Linked DNA regions of Homo sapiens: region 1 is linked to region 2. Evidence: promoter capture Hi-C in human tissues and cell types (Jung and others, 2019). All regions are on one chromosome and are shown on one strand. Each heading gives the region's core, a stretch centred on a gene start or on the middle of the fragment in contact. The rest is flanking DNA. Distances are from core to core; before and after follow the strand shown.

Region 1 (2,947 bases), core at 252-2,751, 160 kb after region 2:
CTTTTTTTTTTTTTTTTTTTTTTTTTTGAGACGGAGCTTTGCTCTTGTTGCCCAGGCTGGAGTGCAGTGTTGTGATCTTGGCTCACTGCAACCTCCGCCTCCCAGGTAGCTGGGATTACAGGCGTCCGCCACCATGTCCGGCTAATTTTTTGTATTTTTAGTAGAGGCGGAGTTTTGCCATGTTGAGCAGGCTGGTCTCAAACTCCTGACTTCAGGTGATCCGCCCACCTCGGCCTCCCAAAGTGCTGGGATTACAGGCCACTGCGCCCGGCCCAGTGTTCCTCTTTTTAACTGACAAAGCACCTACTGAAAGAACAGATAGTTCATAATTTCTCTTGGCACTAGTAAATGGGATTCTTAGATATGGCTGATACTAACAATCCACACAGTCAAGTCTGGTAAATACGAAAACTTCACCCTTCTAAGCTTAAAGTGGTAACTTGGTTCAGTGTGATTCTAGGGTTTAGAAATCTGCTTACAAATGAATTTATCTGCTGGGTATATATGTATTCTTTTTTTTTTTTTTTTTTTGAGACGGAGTCTTGCTCTGTTGCCCAGGCTGGAGTGCAGTGGCGCCATCTCGGCTCGCTGCAAGCTCCGCTTCCTGGATTCACGGCATTCTCCTGCCTCAGCCTCCCGAGTAGCTGGGACTACAGGTGCCCGCCACCGCGCCCGACTAATTTTTTTGTATTTTTAGTAGAGATGGGGTTTCACCGTGGTCTCGATCTCCTGACCTCGTGATCCGCCCACCTCGGCCTCCCAAAGTGCTGGGATTACAGGCGTGAGCCACTATGCCCGGCCTATATGTATTCTTTACTAAAGCTCTGAACTTGTTATTTACTGCAATAAAGACAGTTGCATCTCTGGCAGTAAAATACAGTTGCTCTACCCAAACAGAAAACTACTCAAAGTCCATTGTCTAGTTCACTTGAGAAGCAACAAGTAATACTATAACCTAACTCATTTGAGGGCCTCCTATGTTTTTAGTGACATTAGACAGATGAGCTGCTCTCACAGTCTGGGGTACAGTGGGAAAGCAAGAGCTTTCATCATGAAGCGTTTATAAGAAAGGAAAGGAAACATGTCAGATCATTACATTTGGGTATAATGAACTAGGGGTATATGTCTCACAAGACCCAGTACGTGGTACTTAATAGAACCTCAGTGAATTTTGGCTTAATTGGAAGGAATCATTTGGCGAGAACAGATAAGCTTTGGCTAATATCACCTAAAATCACTACTGGATAGGAAACAGGTGAACGTGAATGGAGACTGTAATATAGCACTAAAAAATAAAAATAAATAATCACAAGAATAGGCTTTGAGCTTAGATTGAAGGGCTGGCAAATTCCTCTGCTGAAGAGCTCTAATGGGAACCTGAGACATGCTTTGGTCTGGTTCCTATCTCTGAGAGATGCCTGTTCAACACTGATTCTCAAATGCTATCTTTTACAGAGGAGAAGGTGGAGTGGGTAAACATGAGGATTGAGCAATTAACACTTAAGAATTGTAAATTCTACCCCTTAATCTCCAGAAAAGTATGGGAACCAGCAGGCCAAAGAATGCTATAAATCAGAATCTGGCATGAGTCATCTGAAAGGCAGTTAGTTATCTTGGAGAGAGCTGCAAATTAATGCTTCAAGGTCTGCTGTGAGATGAATTCCAGGGGAACCACACCCTTTTCCTTCTCTTCTGACACAGCTCAGATCTGGCTCATCCCCCATCCCTCATATGGGTTTCAGATGGCAGTGGGCTTACAGAGAGTCTGCCTTGCCTGGACTGGTACTCCAAGTCCAGCAATTTAAGAGAACTGAACTGGGCGAGTCACCTCTGGGAGAAGGACGTGGGATCCCACCCCAGTTCTTAAATAACTCAGGAAAGGAGTCAGACACCACAGAGGTTTAAAAATACCTGTGCTCAAGTTCAGAGCAGCAGAGCACTTCAGGATCAATTCCCAAAGATCCCAGAAATTGGAACTGGGTGGGGTACCTAGTTTACTTTTTTCAGATGACAGGACAGAAGGAAAGTGCAGAATTAAGAAAGGGAATGCAGCAGGGTAAGGACCTCTAAATTTTAAAAAGGCTAATTTTAGGAGGTTCTAAGAAATACAAGTTGTCAGCTGAGGAAATCCTGGCCACCCTTGAGTATCTTCTTCAGGAGAGCAAGGTGAGTCTACCTCACACTGTGTGAGTGCTTAGGTCTGAAGTCACTCAGTCGCATGCCTCTCTTGCCCACAGCCATTACGAAGTGACGGAGCTTCCTTCTCTGAAGTTACATCCTTCTCCCACTTGGTCTTCCCCTCCCCTCCTCCCCCAGCGGTTTTATTCAGTGGATGGATTGTGAATATTGCAGCCAGCTGACTCCCTGTGTGTCCAGTAGGCCTTCTGCAATAAGGATGCAGAGGAGGGAGTAGCCAGGAGGTGAAAATAGCATTGAAAATCAGTGGAGAAGCCCTTGTCTCCTCAGCAACCAGTACCCCAAAGGGCACTGACCAGGGCCACAGCAAGGAACTCTGTTTTGGGGAAGGAGTTGCACACTGGCTTTAAAATAAGACAAAGGAAAGGGGGAAATGTTGTGATTAAAACTCTGTTCTCTTGGCTAGAGGATGAATCATGTAACTCTTGTCTGAGTGCAGCCAATGGTTGCCCAACTGAGTCAGCCCTGCCTGGCCCTCCGTTCTTGGGTGGGGCTTGCCTGGGCAGGGCTGTCTGCAGCACTGCTAGCTGCCAAAACTGAAGTTCTTCAGGGACTTCAATCTGGCATTTCCACCCTCACGTAGCCACTCTGCAAGCTCTATTCCTGGACAGATGTGGGCTTCCTGCATCCTGGTTAGACACATTTTGACAGGAGGGCCTTGGGGCTGGGGCTGAGGGGCTGCAGTGTCCTCTCTATCCCCAATAACGTACTCTTGCACCTGAAACATTCAATTTCATTTAATTGTTTACTT
Region 2 (3,166 bases), core at 630-3,129:
TCTTTCCTGCCAAATTGTAAAGCCCTGTGAAGGCAGGGACTGTGTTGGTCTTATTTACTTTGTAATTTCATTGGAGGTGCACAAGAAATATCCTACAGCCAGAGTTAAATCTCTGTGGGACTGAAATCTCTTGGTTGCTTATCTATGCCTGAAAACACCAGGGCTTCAGAGATGTGGGGGTTGGGAGTAGGGGGAGAGGATGTTTGGAGGAAGAGGAGGGGAGAGTTGCAAATACAGACCCCTCTCTGGCTTCCACGGGCCAGGCTTCCCTGGCCTACCAGCCTGAAGAGGAAGGCCTCCCTTCTCTGCTGCTGCTGCGTGGCCGGGTCTGGGTGGAGATTGGGCAGTAGGGAGCATGAGTGGGTCGATGGGGGTCACATGGATACTCGGACCTCCAGGGGGAGCAGCCGTTGAGGGGAGGGCCTTAGCTGGAGCATGGTTGGTGGGTGGGGGGGTGTCACCCATTCATGCAGTTAACATCTATGAAACACCTAGCCAGGGAGCCCCTGGAAAGAGGATTCCCCTGCCAGACCTTGGCCCATTTCCTACATCCACATAGCAGCTCATCACAGAACACATGGCCAGTCTTTTGTCTCAGAAAGCCCTTCAACCATGCCCTATACCCCCTATAGCTTCCCTAACCTCTGACTCTATTCTGTTATTTTTTTCCTTCTGCTGTTCAGTCTTGACACCTGACATACACACACACACACACACACACACACACACACACACACACAGTGCCCTTCTGCCCGGGAGATGCTCCCCACTGGCAGGCCGTGGTCACTAGGCTGTGTGGAGGCGAGTGGCCTGATGGCCTGGGCTCTGCTGGGGTGAGGGAGGAGAAAAGACTGCCCCGAGGTGGCAAGGCCCCACCCAGCCCCGCCCACCTCCCCTTGCTCCTGCCTGGCCCCACCCAGCTTCCTCCCTGACGTGGCACCGGCTCCTGGCCTCTAGCCTTGCACCTCAGAGCAGTCCTGTGGTGGGGGTGCTCCCCTTGCTCACCCAGGCAGCCAGTTCTTCCTCCACCAGGTGGCCCTGGAGCTTGGTGGCTCTGGCCCTCAAACTTTCCTCCTCCATGCTCACAGCTGACCAAGCCTGTGGCCCTGCGATCCTGCTCTGAGGGGGTTCCTGACTTGGACCATGGGTGGGGCCAAGGACGGCCTGACATTCTGTCCTTCCCTGCTGATGGCCCAGTGCCCCACATTCTCTGCAGAGATGAAATCCCACATCCCTGGGTGAGTGGCGAGGAAAGGACCAGGCTACGTGGTCATGGGCAGCTGACAGGGTGTGGTTCCCCCTGCCACACTCCCCAAGTCTGTCACTCCTTAAAGGACAGGTTTCTCCACTGGTGAATGAACAGAAGGTGGAGCAGCCAGCCTCCCGGCCACTGCTGTCTGGGGTCCTGGCCAGATCAAGGAAGCAGTGTCCCTGTGCCTCCTGGGGGGTAAGCCCACACCTGGGAGGGCCTGTCCACATTCTGACCCCTCGCTGGGTCTAGATCTGGCTCCCCTGACTTGGCTCTTCCCTCCCCATCTACCCTCCAACCTGTTTCTTCCTTCTCCCGCTTCTCCCTTTCTTTCCTGTTTCTCTCCTTTTGCGATTTCTTCTCCTCTGTCATCTCCCCAGCCCCTCCTCCTGTTTCTCCTCCAGTTTCACTCCCTGCCAACCCAGGGCTTTCTCCTCTGCACTCTTGTCCCTCCCTCCCCTCCTCACTTCTTGCCCAGTCTCTTGCCATTTCTGCCCTCCTCTGAACCTCCAGCAGTCTCTTCCACCTGCAGGCAGGGCCATGGGCCTCTTACCCCGTGAGGCTCGGTGCTGTCTCTGTGGGGCCCTGTCCATGGGGCAGCTCCCTTGGTGCCGTCCTGGCTGCCCTGGCTGCCCAGGAGGGCAGGGAGCAGGGCCCAGGGGAGGGAGGAGGGCGGAGGGTGGAAGGCGGGAGCACCTGGCCCTCCAGCAGGCAGGGAAAAGGAGTGGCTGGCAGAGTGTCCTGGCACCAGGAGGGGACATGAGGAGAGACCAGTGGACCAGTGCATGGAGCCTTGAGGAGAAACAGGACAGGAGAAAGGAAGGGAACTAGCATTTATTAATCACTTACTGTGTGCTGGGCCCTTTGCAGGACACTTTATGTAAATCCATGCTTTTACTTTGTGTAAATATTCACAGCACCCACCACAGGGAAACATTATTATTCCAGATTGATCAGTGAGTGGAGGGATTCTCAGAGATATTAATGATTTTGCCCAAGGACTCACACAAGAACAATAAATGGGTGAGCTATGATTTGGACCCAAGTCTTTGTGACTTTAGAATCCTGTGATTTCTACCTAAGACAGGTGACAGGCATAGGGGAGATGGAGAGGGCAGGTTTGGGGGACTGTGTCTCTTCTCTAGGATGCAGTCAGACTCCTCCCAGTGACTGTTCAGTTCCCTGAGGCCTCTGCCTGCTCGGCCCCTGCCCCTAACCCTTGCTGCTCTTGCCAGGACTCCCTGACCCCCTGATGCTTCTACGTGCTCCTCATCTGTTGGGGCAAGGGGCAGGCCTGGAGGAGTGCCTGGAGGCAGAGAAGCCATGGTGGGGAAGAGGAGAGGAGAGATGCTGCACTGGACTCATTGGGAGAAGGAGAGGCTCCCAGACCTAGTGGCCCACACTGAGGCCTGCAGTGAAGGCTCTGAAGGGGGCCAAGAGGACGAGGCTTCTGGGGATCCTGGTGCTGCTTTTCTCCTGCATGGCCTGGGCCCAGAGTTTGATTAGCTGGGCCTGACTCTCCTGGTTACCCAACAAGCAACTGGCCAGGGGCCAGGCTGCAGCAAGAGGCTCCCTGGCACCTCCTCCTGCTCTCGTTCCCAGCTGGTAAACAGCAGAGCAGGAGTCAGCCATGCCACAGCCTCGTGACTCGCCCACTCCCCCCCACCTGGTGCACGTGGCACCTGGCATGGAGAGGGCAAGCAGCTGTCCCTTCCCTCTTCTGCCGTCTCGTCTCGCCATCCTCCACTCCTGCCCAACCCTGGAGCTTCACACTCTGCTACCATCAGCACCTCTGTTCTTAGGTAGCTCCCAGAGTCTCCCCATGGCTGCAGATTGAGAGATAAAGGTAGAAGTGGAGAAGGACTTTTCAACTCCTAGGGTCATTGACAGTGGATGAGTAGTGAGAAAGAGGAGGGG

The links. Contacts are between HindIII fragments. The study calls those that stand out against the background at their distance.
Region 1: a fragment that was not itself captured here is called in contact with the fragment with the promoter of RORC in region 2 in 1 of the 25 tissues and cell types used here (IMR-90 fibroblasts).

The regions. Positions count from the first base shown.
Region 1 is chr1:151,987,027-151,989,973 of GRCh38, forward strand. All of the region lies in intron 1 of S100A10 (S100 calcium binding protein A10), which reads right to left. Among named protein-coding and RNA genes, the nearest start is that of S100A10, 5.4 kb to the right of the region's middle. The HindIII fragment of the contact is 5,250 bases long and covers 1-2,947 here.
Region 2 is chr1:151,829,923-151,833,088 of GRCh38, forward strand. RORC (RAR related orphan receptor C) reads right to left here and starts at 1,880. Exons shown (of 11, transcript NM_005060.4): 1 at 1,803-1,880. The coding sequence starts at 1,842. RefSeq lists an enhancer at 501-1,188. The HindIII fragment of the contact is 16,173 bases long and covers 1-3,166 here.